Regions from separate parts of the Homo sapiens genome. Here all the other regions are linked to region 1. The links are contacts of gene promoters, found by promoter capture Hi-C in human tissues and cell types (Jung and others, 2019). All regions are on one chromosome and are shown on one strand. Each heading gives the region's core, a stretch centred on a gene start or on the middle of the fragment in contact. The rest is flanking DNA. Distances are from core to core; before and after follow the strand shown.

Region 1 (3,252 bases), core at 430-2,929:
TTTTCTAATATAAAATCAATTACATTTTATTTTTCAACTCTTACCCTAAGAAAGGTTGCTATGGGCACCACAGAACATCTGTTCTGGCGCCAACAGATTGCGTTAAAGTCACCCACAGTCTCTCCAAATTAAAAACCTCAAACTGAGTTCACTGGCTTTGTTACTGTACTCTCAGCAGGATGTTCTTTTGCCTTGCCCATCGTTCAGTTTAATCCTCTAGAAAGAAAATTTTTAGAGGTACATCGGACTAAATCATTTTCTTCTGAGTACACCATTTCCAAATGGCCGCCCAGGGTCCTAAATCCGGCGGCTGCGGAGAGGGACTAGAGGGTGTCCTCCTCTGCAGAGCCGTAGGACTCGAGCGCCTTCATCACTGGACGCTGGAGCCAGGAAGGAAACCCACACACTCAGGGACAGGTATAACCCCACAGGGGTGCACCAGTGAGGCCCCGATCGCAGCGGAGGACTCCATCCCTGAGCTTGTGAGGGCGTCCTGGGGAGGAAGCGAACACTTTCCCCGTTCAAGTCAGAGAGCAGGACTCACTGGGTGGCAGGTCAGAAGTTGAATTTTAACCCGACCTGCGCTTTGTCCCCGCGCCTTCCGCAGCCTGGGCGCCGCGGTGGCACCGAGCTGGGAGAGGACACGAGAGGCTGGCGCGGGAGAAGCCGAGAGTTGCTATCGACCGGGAGCTGCCGGCGGCGGGAGCAGACGCGACCCTCGCCGCTTTCGATCTCGAAGCCGCGGAGAGCCGATCTCGGCTGCTGGGGCTCGGCTCCCCGCGCTCTGCCTTGCCCTTTCGGCAGAGGGCAGCTCCCTGCCTGCTGCAGCCCCGCCACTGTGCGCCCGGCAGCCCAGGGGTGCGCCCAGCCCGCCCCCCGAGTGGCCGCCGGGACTCCAGCAGTTGGACCGACCCTCGCCCTCCGGCGCCTGGACAAACTTCCTTCCTCCCGGGCCCCTGCGCCAAGCAAGCTGACAGGCGGCTCCCTCGCCGGTCTCCTCTGGGCTCTGGCCGGGCGAGCTTGCTCTCTGCCCCTCTCCAACCCCGAGCCCCTGGCGCCTATAGCCGTCCCCGCGCAGCGGCTCCAACAAAGCCAGAGGACCGGAGACGACCCGGCGAGGGGCTGGGAGTGGCAGCGGGGACCCCAGAGCCAGAAGGAGGCGTCCCCTCGGCGGGGCGAGTACAGTGGGAAGGGGCAGCGGGAACGTAGCGGGGAGAGAAAGGGGAAGAAAGTGTTCTGTTCTCGGCGCGAACGCCTTCCTGGCTCGTCCTCGTTCCCCTTCTCCTCCTGCCTGAGCGCGTCCCATGTCCCGTTGGGAATTGGCAGGCGGGGAAGGGAGGAGGGGAGAGGGGACGCGGTGGCCTGGCGAGCGAGCCGCTCCCTTACCTCTGTCCAGGGTGAGCGGCTGGACCACTGTCAATGTCGCCATGTCTGCCGTGGGAGCCGAAGTGACGCTCGGCTTCAGCATCAGCAACCGCTCGTAGTGAGAAAAAAAGGAGGAGATTGGGGGCGGGGGTGGAGAGGGAAGACGGAAAGGAGGGGGAGGAGGGGGAAGGAAGGAAGGTGGTGGTGGTGGAGAAGAAAGCTTGGGTGGGTTGGTAGCCAGATGGAGACGCAACTGTTCCGCGGCGGCAGATCTTCAGTTGCGGTGCGGAGCTGAGCAGGTATCCGAGAGCGACTGCATCGCCGGGCTCTGGGAGGGAAGGCTCTGCCCTAGAACTTTGCTATTCCACCCCCAGGAGCGCTGGGTGGGTGTAGCTGGCGGGTTGCTTCCTTTCAACTTTCCACTCTAATAAAATGGTCAGAATATACGTGTGTGCATGCGGGTGCGTGTGTGTATAAGGGGAAGAGAGAGGATGGAAAGGGGATATGGGGAAGGGAGTGGGAGATGAGTTTTCTCAGATTAAGAGAAATTGCCAATCCAATAATCCCATCCCCTTTAGAGAGAAAATGCTTCCATTATCAGAAATGTTTGGGATGTAATTACATTTGCAGTTAATTTCTGTTGAAGTTTTTCGGAATGTTGACCTATAACGGCATATAAAGATAACTGACTAAAGGCCAGCGTTCCATCAGTAGATGTTCATTTAGGACCTGAGTATATTGCCTGGAGAAAAAAAAAAAAAAAGGCAAACCTCTTAAAAGTGCTTCAAAATAAAAAACGTGTAGGTAAGTTTCTATCGCTAAGTTTTTCTTTTTCAAGCCACTGTTAATACATTACCAATTCAGTAAATGTAGCTTAGAAACAAGTACAGTGTTCAGATTTTCTCCGAATTTTTTACATACCACATCCTGTAAACATGCCCCACTCCCCCTCACCCACCCAGCAACAAAAACTTTGCTCTTAATGTCCAAACTGATTTTGGTTGTCTATGACTACGTTTGAAAAATATGTACCTAGCACTTTTCATGTTGATTTCTAACCAGTGGTTCAGAGATGCCACTTATCGATTGATTAACATATATGCCAGGAATTGAGATAGAAGAGTTACATTGCCTTGTGCCACGCCTTGATTTAGGAGTTCAATTTAGTCTCCGACTTCCTGTAGCCTGTAATCTAGTGGGAGATGGTGTTATTAAAAACCTGACTTTAGAGTCAGTTGATCAGGATTAAATTACGAGAGCCTTCAAATACTGGCTGTGACCTCTTCGCCCCAATAAAAAGGCTACTTTCACTATCTTGTCATAGTAGGGATTCATTTCCTGACTACGAAATCAAGAAACATAAAGAAACCTTCTATAAGCTGAATAGGGGTGACTGTGGGTGCAGGATTGGAAATGACAAAGCTGCCTCCATCTTGTTTCCTGTGACAGAGCTGAATTGTTTGGGCTAACAATAAACTCTAAAAGGCAGATACTGTTTTATAGCAAAATATTTGCATATAATTGATGCCATTTTCTTCTGATTACAGATAGGATTTCTGAAGGTCTTTTTCATTTTATAGTCTACAATTGAATTTTAAAAAACAACATTTCACCAATGTGGGAAAGCCAAAGATGATTGGCCATATATAGACTTAACAGACCCTAAGAACAAACCTAAAATAGTAGTTCGATATGTTTATTTTTATTTAGTATTTAAGAAAGAATGCTGATCTTGACATTTGAGTCTTAGTCATGTACTCTTCGGAAGTCACACAATCTCTCACTGATCCTGTTTCCTCCTCTGTCATACAATGGAAATAATATCATTCAATGTCACAGAGATCTGTCATATGAGGAAACTAATTCTACCTTGCAATCTCACAGAGT
Region 2 (3,252 bases), core at 482-2,981, 450 kb before region 1:
TGGTTTCCAGCTTTATCCATGTCCCTGCAAAGGACATGACCTCATCCTTTTTTTAAGACTTATTTAATTTTTAACAAAATAAATTGTTTTTGTCTATTTTCTTTCTTTCTTGTTTTTTGTTTGTTTGTTTGTTTGTTTGTTTGTTTGTTTTTTGATGGAGTCTTGCTCTTTCTTCCAGGCTGGAGTGCAGTGGTGCAATCTCCACTCACTGTAACCTCCGCCTCTTGGGTTCAAGCAATTCTCCTGCCTCAGCCTCCTGAGTAGCTGGGATTACAGGCACGCACCACCATGCCTGGCTTATTTTTGTATTTTTTAGTAGAGATGGGGTTTCACCATGTTGGTCAGGCTGGTCTCGAACTCCTTACCTCAGGTGATTGGCCTCCCTTGGCCTCCCAAAGTGCTGGGATTACAGCCATGAGCCACCGCACCTAGCCTAGTCTGTTTTCTAATAGAATTGTTTATATATCTTAAATTGTGAACTAAGAATTTAGGCACTTTTTTCACTTGAAAAAATATTTTTAATTTCCCCCTTTTCTTTTCTTTCTTTCTTTCTTTCTTAGTTCCAGGGGCAGTGTTTGATTTACAACTTGCAGAGGTAGAATCCACGCAAGTAAGAATTACTTGGAAGAAACCACGACAACCAAATGGAATTATTAACCAATACCGAGTGAAAGTGCTAGTTCCAGAGACAGGAATAATTTTGGAAAATACTTTGCTCACTGGAAATAATGAGGTATTGCATTTTTATTTCACTTATTGGTGAACCCTTTCTGCTTGGTTCTGGCTCTGATAGCTTGGAAGATTTGCTAGCACCCACACATGTAATATTTGACCACTTACTAGTACAAAGTAAAGTAAATTTGGGGCATGTTGATAATCTAGCTAGATCATATTTCATTTTAGGTTATATATTATTAGTTAAGTGCTATTATTCCTTTTCATCATATGAAAAATGTTAATTGTGCAATTAAACAGGACTAAAGGTATTTTCATAAGTTAATATTATTTTTCTAAATTAGTTAATGAATTGTTCGGAAACTCTTGTTATGATTTAAGTGCTCCTTCAAAGGCTGTGCTTGCAATTTGGAACAGTTGCCAGTGAAAGGCACAGTAACTTTAGTAGCTGTTGTTGACAAATGATTCTGTTCTATTTGGTCTTGGGAAGCTAAATTTCTCAAAGCTGCCTCTTTTTTTTTTTCAAAGTACATTTGATTAAGAGTCACATTACTAAATAAAAGAAATTTAAGTCGTTTCATAGATTTTAAATAAGAGGACCAGGATCTTTAGGCAATGTGTTTGCTTCTATTCACACTGGAAGTCTTATTTTTTTCCTTTTGTTTCTGTTAGGAAGTACAGGCAACACTGATTTTTCTTTCCACTGTCTTTGTTCACCTCACTTCATCAACTGTTCACCTGTGAGACTCTTTCAGCCTCCAGGCTAGTCATGTCCAGATACTGGCTGCTCCCCGGGGCATTCAAAGAATAAACTTCCTTAGGACCAGTGCAGCAATCACTGGGCCTTAAAGACAAACACGATAGTTATTCAGCACCTGGCGTCTGCTGTGTTGTTTCAGAATTGCTGCTGCTTCTACCTGTGCTGTTATTTTCCCCCACACATGCTTTCATTCTATTTCTAGTCCCAGCCTTCCTCTATTTCTGGCACTTACCTGTATGTGACAGTTGACCTCACCATGTGCTCAATGCATTCTGGCCACCCAGGACTTATCACTCCAAGTTGCTCACCATCTTCAACCCAGGGTTAAATTTTAATCCTATGTTGATTCCTTTCCTCTGTGCAAAAGATGTTGAATTATGCTTTCTGTGATACTCTGGTTGACAACTCAGGCAAAGGGCAAAAGCTTAACCCTTTGCTCCTGCTGAGAAGGTCTTAAATTAGATACTGAGCTTTCCTAGTACTAGATGACAGGTTTCCCACTTCTGCTAATGACATCTGTTGAATGGGTGGCCACACCTGTTTTTCCATGAAGCTAAGAGGTTCTAGAAAGGCTTTTTTTTTGTGATTCTGTCTCTATCTGGTCTGCAATTCTCGTCTCATAGTAGAGAGCTCATGAGCTTTGGAGACGTACAAATTTGGATTTAAATTATGATTTTGTCTCTCACTGTGCTATATAGCAAGTGGTTAAGACTGTAAACCAGGTTTAAACTCTAGTTCTGCCATTACTAACTGTTTAACCCTGGAAAAGTTGGCCTGAGCTCTCTGAACATCAGTTTCTTCTTCTCTAAGATAGTGATTATAAGTCCCTATAACAAAGGGTTAATAATGAGAATTTAATGGGTTCATGTGTGTAAAGAGCTTAGAACTGTACCTGGCATATAGTAAGTGCTGTGCTAAATAATTGTGACCTATTGTGATCATTAATCTTGGCATAGGATCATCCACCTTAGTTGCTACCCAATATTACTTCCCTTATACTCTCTCAATGAAAGGAGACATTATGCTTCTCTTTACTTCTCTGATTATATCTTTCTTTATTAGATCAGACTCATTTCTGATATTTCTGCTTCCCCATGTAGCTGGTGTTTGGGTTTACCTTTCAGGAGATTGATGTGGGGAGACAGATATGACAGAAGCTTTAAATCCAAATGGCCCTGGGTTCTTGGCCTGACTCTGCCGTGTTCTAGGTCTATGACCTTAGAAAAATCAACTTTTGGAGACTTGGTGCCTTCATTTATATAATGGGGCTTATATAGCCACCTTACAGGGTTGGGAGTAAATGACATAAGAAATACAACTTGTGGCTTAGTGTGTTCTTCATTTGTTTTTCCTTTCTTTGACCTTGGTACCTCTCTCAGGATGAGGACTCTCTTCCCATTTCTATTGATCTTCTGAAAAAGTAGCCTCATTCCCCAACTCAAGAACTCTTTAAATGCTTGAAATCTTATTAGAAGTCACCAGTGACCTCCCCAGTGTGCAACACAAGAATTAAATATTTTTAACCACCCTTGTGTTCTTATCTCCTTCAAAATCCATCCCTCTGTCCCCCCACTTTTCAGCTTTTGAAACTATTTGTTCCTTAATACTTTCTGCAATTTTATGTACTGTGACATTGCAATTCTTTGGCCTTGCACAATTAAAAATGAAAGTTCAAAAAGCTAACTCTCTCTATTTTCTAACTTTTTAGTGAAGATGTTCCACAGAGCTTTGGTTTCAGCCATCTCATAACATTTTCTTTTGAAGACCTAACAGTTTCAATCACTGCTTCCTATTTGTCTGACTCTTTTGCCTTACTT
Region 3 (3,252 bases), core at 319-2,818, 320 kb after region 1:
TAGTTTAAGTAAATTGTCGAGCCTTATGTGACTAGAAAACAAAGCTTAAACAGAGAACTGGAATTATTATTTTTTTTATTGACAATGGAAAGGGTTTCTGTTATCATTACCTTTTGACTGAATCTGTTAAATAAAAATAGACATCAAAACAAATGTAATGTACGTGCAAACATAGCAAATTAAAATACAGAAAAGAAATTACTAATGACAGGTCTTGCGCTTAATAAGATCAAGCAGCAGAAAATCAGCAGTTAGATAAATGGTATTATTAAATAGGCTTTACTTTGAATCTCCCATATAAACAAAGAATAAACAACAGTAACACCACCAAATAAAGCCACAGGGAAGAGATTACTCTTCTATACTTTTATACACTATATATGTTAATCATTCTGTCTTTCATTTATTTCCTCTGATAAAACTGACTTCAGGGAAGTCGCAACAAGGCCATCTCGGCTAAAAGCTTATAACATTAGACATGAGTCTGGCTAATGCCCTGTTACATTGACAAAAGGGAAAGGTATCTTGGGTTTCGTTTTCTCTAGTGGAAATGAGCCTCAGACTCTGCGGTGGTTGACATTCACTGTCCAGTACTGGCTGGCATTTCAAGATATTTGAATGAACATGTGGTTCTTAGTAAAGAAGTTTTTTTATCTTTTTTTTTTTCTTGGTCCACAGGTAACAAGAGAAGATTATGGTTTTTTAATATAAATTTTTAAATAATTGCTTTTGACCCTTGTAAACAGCTTGGCTTTGTTTTGTATTGAAAAGGAGATCAAGCCATCACAGTGCTATTTCTAAAGATATAGGACATCCCTGATTGCCTTTAAAGCTCTATTTTTGGCTCCGGTTCCAGGTTAAATCATTCTTTTTTACATGATCAGAGGCAGGTTGTTCAGCTTTAAGTATTGACAGACTTGAAGGAGAAACACGTTGAAGCATGAAACATGCTTCAAGGAAACATATTGATTTGACTATTAACAATCCAAAAACTGTAAAAATGGTGGAATGGTAAAATACAAACAGTACTTGGAATTGTCAAATGTTTGCACTCGAGACTCCATGAACCATATATTTTATTTTTTAAAAAATCATATTTATATCCATTTACATAAGACTTACACATTTAAAAAGAAATGCACGGTAATACATAAATGCCTAGTATATTACAATAAAACATGAAAAACAACTGGCTTCATTTCATAAAAGCATCTGTTGTACAGAGTTTATGATGTAGATGATGTTTATTATTCAAATGACTTAAGCATTTTATTACAATTTGTAGTAAACTAATCAAATGTAATATCTGACTCCCCCCAAAAATCACATTTTTCAGCTTTTAATAAGTCATGACGTCATTATTTCCTTAGAATTCAGTTTTCACAAAGGTTTTCACTGCTCGTCTTCTTAGATGGTAGTGCACTTTAGGTAGAGTAGACTGAAAAGACGCCATCTAAAATATACAATGGATAGCATTAGTTCACTGAAAAGTCCCAGACTGGGAAATCTCATTCTACTCCTCTGTGGTGTACCTCCACGCAGCCTGCTTACTCCTGTCCTAGAAGATCATGAGAAGGAAATCATCTAGGATGTAGCCAACAGCCGTATGTAATTAACATTTGCTTTTCTCCAATTTGGTGCAGGGGAGCTTAACAAATAATAGAATTTGCTCAACTTTGTGGAAAGTATGGCAGTAATGTAAACAAAGGTAGTTATGCAAAATGTTAGCATGCCTTCTGAAAAATTTACAACTTGCTAATTAATAAATTGGGTTGAATTGACCTATTTCATAATGTAGATTTATATTCTAGTTCATATATTTTAGAGTTCTTAAAAAATACCTTTATTTGTTACAAAAACATAACGATAATAAGTCACCTATTGTAAACGTTTGTGTCAGTAGTATGGCATTGCTGATTGTTTTCAGCCATAATGTACTTAGAAAAAGCTCACAATTGCTATTACTGACACAAAAGAAACAGCAAGTAGTATGCTCTGGATTATTTTAATATCAAAAGTGTTGTTGTTTCACCCAAACAAAAAATGGTTGTCCTAGATTGAATTATTGTAAATGAATACTGTTATCCCAATTAATGGTAAAAACTAGGAAATATGAACTAGAATGTCATGCACAAAAAACAGATTGCAAATAGAGTAACTCTACCCATCACTTAAGAGCTAAGAAGCAAGCACTATTGAACATATTAAATAGTCATTTGTAAATTAGTGAAGTGTTCATTTCCTGAAGAAATTATAATGCTATGTGTAGAATCTAATATAAACAGTATTTTGGGAGACCTCTTATTTAGCCAAATTATTATATACTTTAAATCATGTCTAATTAGGTGCCAAATTATATACCATAATTAAAATTTTAATGTAAGGGTTGTACATTCTGAAATTAAATCTCTTATCGGGATGCTTTTCATTTTATCAGCTTCAAATAGTGATCCAAATAAGGCAGCATATCTGCTCCCATCCTAAGCCCAAAAGACCAACAATAAATTGTGTGGCACTTTTAGTTCAAGGCAATGAAAACAGCACAAGGTGAGTTGTTCCTCTGTCTATAACTGTTTTCTCTTAACCCTGTGCACACATTTTGTTCTAAATATCGCTCTTAAAAAGTATTTTTCTAAAATATTGATTCATCGAAAGTGGTTAAATATTTTGGTAAAGCATAGTTTTAGGTTGAAAAAAAATTATGAACATTTGACATTTATAAATCTAAGAAACCACAGTTTTACTATTAAGACTGTTTTTCAATAAAACCTCATTTTTATATGGATTTTAAAGTAGCTTTCATTAATTGGTATTTCCTTAAAATCAAATGCTTGGTATTTATGGTTACATAGGAAGGTTTTGTGCTGGTCCTATTCTCCATTCTTAAAGTAATTTTATTTTGTTCCTATATGTCTTAAATACTTAAAATTTATATTTGTTTTTAGCAAGTGTAAATCAGATTGATAAGAAACAATGTAATAAAGGTTTGAATTTTTCACAGTTTCTACTATTTATTTATTGATTTATTTTAAGACGGAGTCATGCTCTGTCACCCAAGCTTGAGTGCAGTGGCACCATCGCTCACTGCAACTTCTGCCTCCCAGGTTCAAGTGACTCTCTTGCCTCAGCCTCCCAAGTAGATGGGATTATGGGAGTGCAACACCATGCCTGGCTACTTTTTGTGTTTTTAGTAGAGATGAGGTTTCACCATGTTGGCCAGGCTGGTCTCTAACTCCTGACCTGAAGTGATCC
Region 4 (3,252 bases), core at 486-2,985, 300 kb before region 1:
CCATTCTTGCTGAATGGTGTAGGTGAGCTGGTACTACTTGAGACTGTTCACGAATGGCATGGGCAGAACGTTCACTTCAGAGGCAACAAGAGCTCATCCAAGTGAGCTGCTGGGCTCTCACAATGAATAACAATAATGCAGGATTGGATCCCACAAGGGCAGTGTTTTCCTCTTCCTACTGCCTCTCAGGGTCACTCTAGTGCCCTCTATTGACAAAGCCTCACTTTCGGCCGGCTGGCAAAGGAGAAATGCAGGTTCCAGCTCCAATATCAAAGAGCACAGCAAAAAAAAGGAGGTTTGGAGATGAGAGACAACAAGGTGAAAACACAAAAGCAGAAGCTTTCAGGCCACCTACATCTTTTAAAGTAATTTGTAACTCTTATAGGTTTAATTTAAAATATCTCAATCAGGTCTAAATATTAAAGTTTATACAGAAAGAGATCTTTTTTATAGTTAGAACAACACTTGTAAAATATCCAGCTTCCTTATATGGTAGACCCCCTTCTCATGCTTACTTTCTGAACATGTCTGTGCTGAATTTTCCAAGTGTATCTTTCCATTCTCAGCATCAGCATCCTACTTCCCTTATTATTTACAGGGCCTCGTTGGAAATCTTACTTCTGACCTCAAAATCTAGCTTCTTAAGGCAGATTGCCGAGTTAAAGGGACCTTACATTTGTAAAGTAAACTTTCTACCAATTTCCTAAATAGTTCAATAGACTATTTTTATTTCAACTGAAGAATGTAGTTCTGTATTCTAAATGCCATGCATTATGGTTCATCTTGACTCTCTTAAAGCATAATTTTAATAGATAATTTGAAAGGCTCTTGAAAAAGATATTTTCTCTATACCACATAACTATTTGCAGATTTAGCCAGAAGACAGTGAGAGAGTTATCATTCGAGGCACTTTGAATGCTATAATGTGTAAAATATGGGCCTTTCCCTAAGGAGTATGGACTGGCCACATTTATGTAATTTCCCTGCTCTAAAATCTTTTCTGACTTCTCATTTCTCTACAAGATGAACTCCTTGTGTGAGTAGGAAATGGTCCTCCTTATTCCCCACAACTTGCCTACTCACTAGCTAAAGAGATCTATTCTCACCTGAACATTCCTTGGGCTTTTATACATTCTGCTTTTGTTCAGTCACCCTGAAATGTGCTTCCTCCTCCTTCTCATCCTGGGACATCCAAGTCAAATTCTACTTCTTTACCTCCTCTAAATAATAATAACTATTTATGTAACTAATCAGGCACTGTCTTATGTGTTGTAATTTGAATCTTTTTTTCTCTTTTCATGTTTTTTCTGCATTGAAATCTTGCCTCTCAACTAAATTGTAATGTCTTTGAGGGTAGGGAACATGTTTTATACTTTCCATATCATCCTTGATGTCCAACTCTTAATAAATACTAAATATTTGAAATGTGAAAGATAGAATAGCTAAACATTACTTTGTAATATACCATACTGTGTCATGGAGAAATAAGCATTTAAAGGGTTTAAGATGAAAAGAATCTGATTTGATTCTCAGATTCATGTGGCTTTTATTTTTGAACCTAAGTTTTCTGATTGTAAAGATAATATCTACTCACAATATTTTTATAAAAATTCAATAAGATAATTTGAAAATAATTTTTAAGTATTTTCATGCATGTAAAAATATTTCATATATGTGAACACAATGGGGCATTATCTGTTAGCAATACTATTGATAGCATTGAACTATTTTCACTTTGGCATAGTTCCTTTATATGACAAATCAATGACATAGCTAGAGAGAAGAGAAACAAGATCACAACGTAAGTCTTCTTGGCTCTATATTTAAATGTACCAATGGCTCAGGCCTTCGTCAACTAATTCTTCTTAAATTTAGAACTTCATCCCAATAACTTATTAGAAAAAAAAGAAAGTAGAATAGGTTCTATGGAATTAAAACAAGAAAAAGAAGTCGAGTAGCTATAAATTTGCAACATATTCAGAGAGGTGATTTTAACAAGGAAATTATTTGACTAAATGTCTTTACTTAAAAAGAAAACTAAACCTAATTTTATATACTTTGTGTGAAACTCCCTTCTTGGACTTTACTCCGCTTGTTTTAGAATTCGACAGAAGCAGAAAGAAGGTGGCACATACTCTCCTCAGGATGCAGAAATTATTGACACTAAATTGAAGCTGGATCAGCTCATCACAGTGGCAGACCTGGAACTGAAGGACGAGAGATTAACGCGGTGAGCACACTCCTCTGGGTGAACTGTGGTCCAGAGGGCCTGGAGCCATGACCCTATTCTGACCTATGCTTGTTGGAAGTGTTTGTGGGGCTCTAATTTACACAGGTCACAGAGATCTTCTTTCAAAGAGTGACCTCCGTCTTCTACACACTTCTCACTGCTGTTCAGAGAATCACTTAATCTTCCTAATATTTTGAGTTAAATATGAACTTTGGACTATAATGTTCAATCAGGATTATTTTCCTGGGACAAATATTTTTCCACATTAAACCTTTGACATTATGTTTAATAATTCATTTCATATGATAGATTTTTACATTAAACTTTTCTGGAAGTGTCCACATTTTCAATCACAGGTTTAAATTAATTAAATTTATAACTACTTGATATTATTTATATCCATTTTTATAAAAGCTTTTTAATAACTATTTCAGTATAAAAGTACATAAAAGTCTAAGTTGTATATGATATCATTTTTACATTTCTTTGTATTTAAAAATTAAATATAAAGTAAAAAGTTACCTTCAGAGGGAAAAGTAAAAACATGTGTACTAAATATGTTTCATTGGTACCTATTGGAAATAGTAAAGTACATAATTTTAAAGAAAAAATAATTATAAATCCTTTTAAAAGCATTATCAATTATTCAAAATGTTGGCACATTATAAAAACTTGTCTATTAAGATAATTCATCAAATTCTTAATGAAAACTACCATCAGGCTATTTTAACGTTTGCATTTTTATAAGATTCAATAACATGTAATGCTTATAAGCACAAAGTAGTTGTTACCAAGTATTTGCTCAGCTCTGTTAAAATTAAAAAAATTATTATTAATTTTGAAAATATGGCATCAAATGTCTTGGACTCAAAAAGTTATTCATTTGTAGTTGTCACTTGTTAAAGTTGGTCTTTATCTAATAGATGGACTTTGCAAGTATATTTCCAGCATATCTAAAAATACCTAATATGTGCTATAGAGGGAAGTGTCATCTGATAAGCAAAGTCCTTCCAAATGCTACA

Evidence for each region. The method cuts DNA at HindIII sites, captures the fragments that hold promoters and counts their contacts. A contact is called where the count stands out against the background at its distance.
Region 2: a fragment that was not itself captured here is called in contact with the fragment with the promoter of LIN7A in region 1 in 1 of the 25 tissues and cell types used here (lymphoblastoid cells).
Region 3: a contact is called between a fragment that was not itself captured here and the fragment with the promoter of LIN7A in region 1, in 2 of the 25 tissues and cell types used here (dorsolateral prefrontal cortex and hippocampus).
Region 4: a fragment that was not itself captured here is called in contact with the fragment with the promoter of LIN7A in region 1 in 1 of the 25 tissues and cell types used here (lymphoblastoid cells).

Annotation. Positions count from the first base shown.
Region 1 is chr12:80,936,255-80,939,506 of GRCh38, forward strand. LIN7A (lin-7 cell polarity scaffold A) reads right to left here and starts at 1,680. Exons shown (of 6, transcript NM_004664.4): 1 at 1,387-1,680. The coding sequence starts at 1,468. RefSeq lists a silencer at 808-1,017. The HindIII fragment of the contact is 2,607 bases long and covers 1-2,516 here.
Region 2 is chr12:80,483,873-80,487,124 of GRCh38, forward strand. It overlaps PTPRQ (protein tyrosine phosphatase receptor type Q), which reads left to right. Exons shown (of 45, transcript NM_001145026.2): 9 at 561-733. Among named protein-coding and RNA genes, the nearest start is that of PTPRQ, 41 kb to the left of the region's middle. The HindIII fragment of the contact is 4,311 bases long and covers 1-3,252 here.
Region 3 is chr12:81,258,208-81,261,459 of GRCh38, forward strand. ACSS3 (acyl-CoA synthetase short chain family member 3) reads left to right here. Exons shown (of 16, transcript NM_024560.4): 16 at 1-3,003. It overlaps PPFIA2 (PPFI scaffold protein A2), which reads right to left. Exons shown (of 33, transcript NM_003625.5): 33 at 1-1,453. Among named protein-coding and RNA genes, the nearest start is that of PPFIA2-AS1, 19 kb to the right of the region's middle. The HindIII fragment of the contact is 4,905 bases long and covers 1-3,252 here.
Region 4 is chr12:80,632,844-80,636,095 of GRCh38, forward strand. PTPRQ (protein tyrosine phosphatase receptor type Q) reads left to right here. Exons shown (of 45, transcript NM_001145026.2): 35 at 2,102-2,230. The region is part of intron 1 of LOC105369867 (a long non-coding RNA gene); the gene reads right to left. Among named protein-coding and RNA genes, the nearest start is that of MYF6, 73 kb to the right of the region's middle. RefSeq lists an enhancer at 1-398. The HindIII fragment of the contact is 5,580 bases long and covers 1-3,252 here.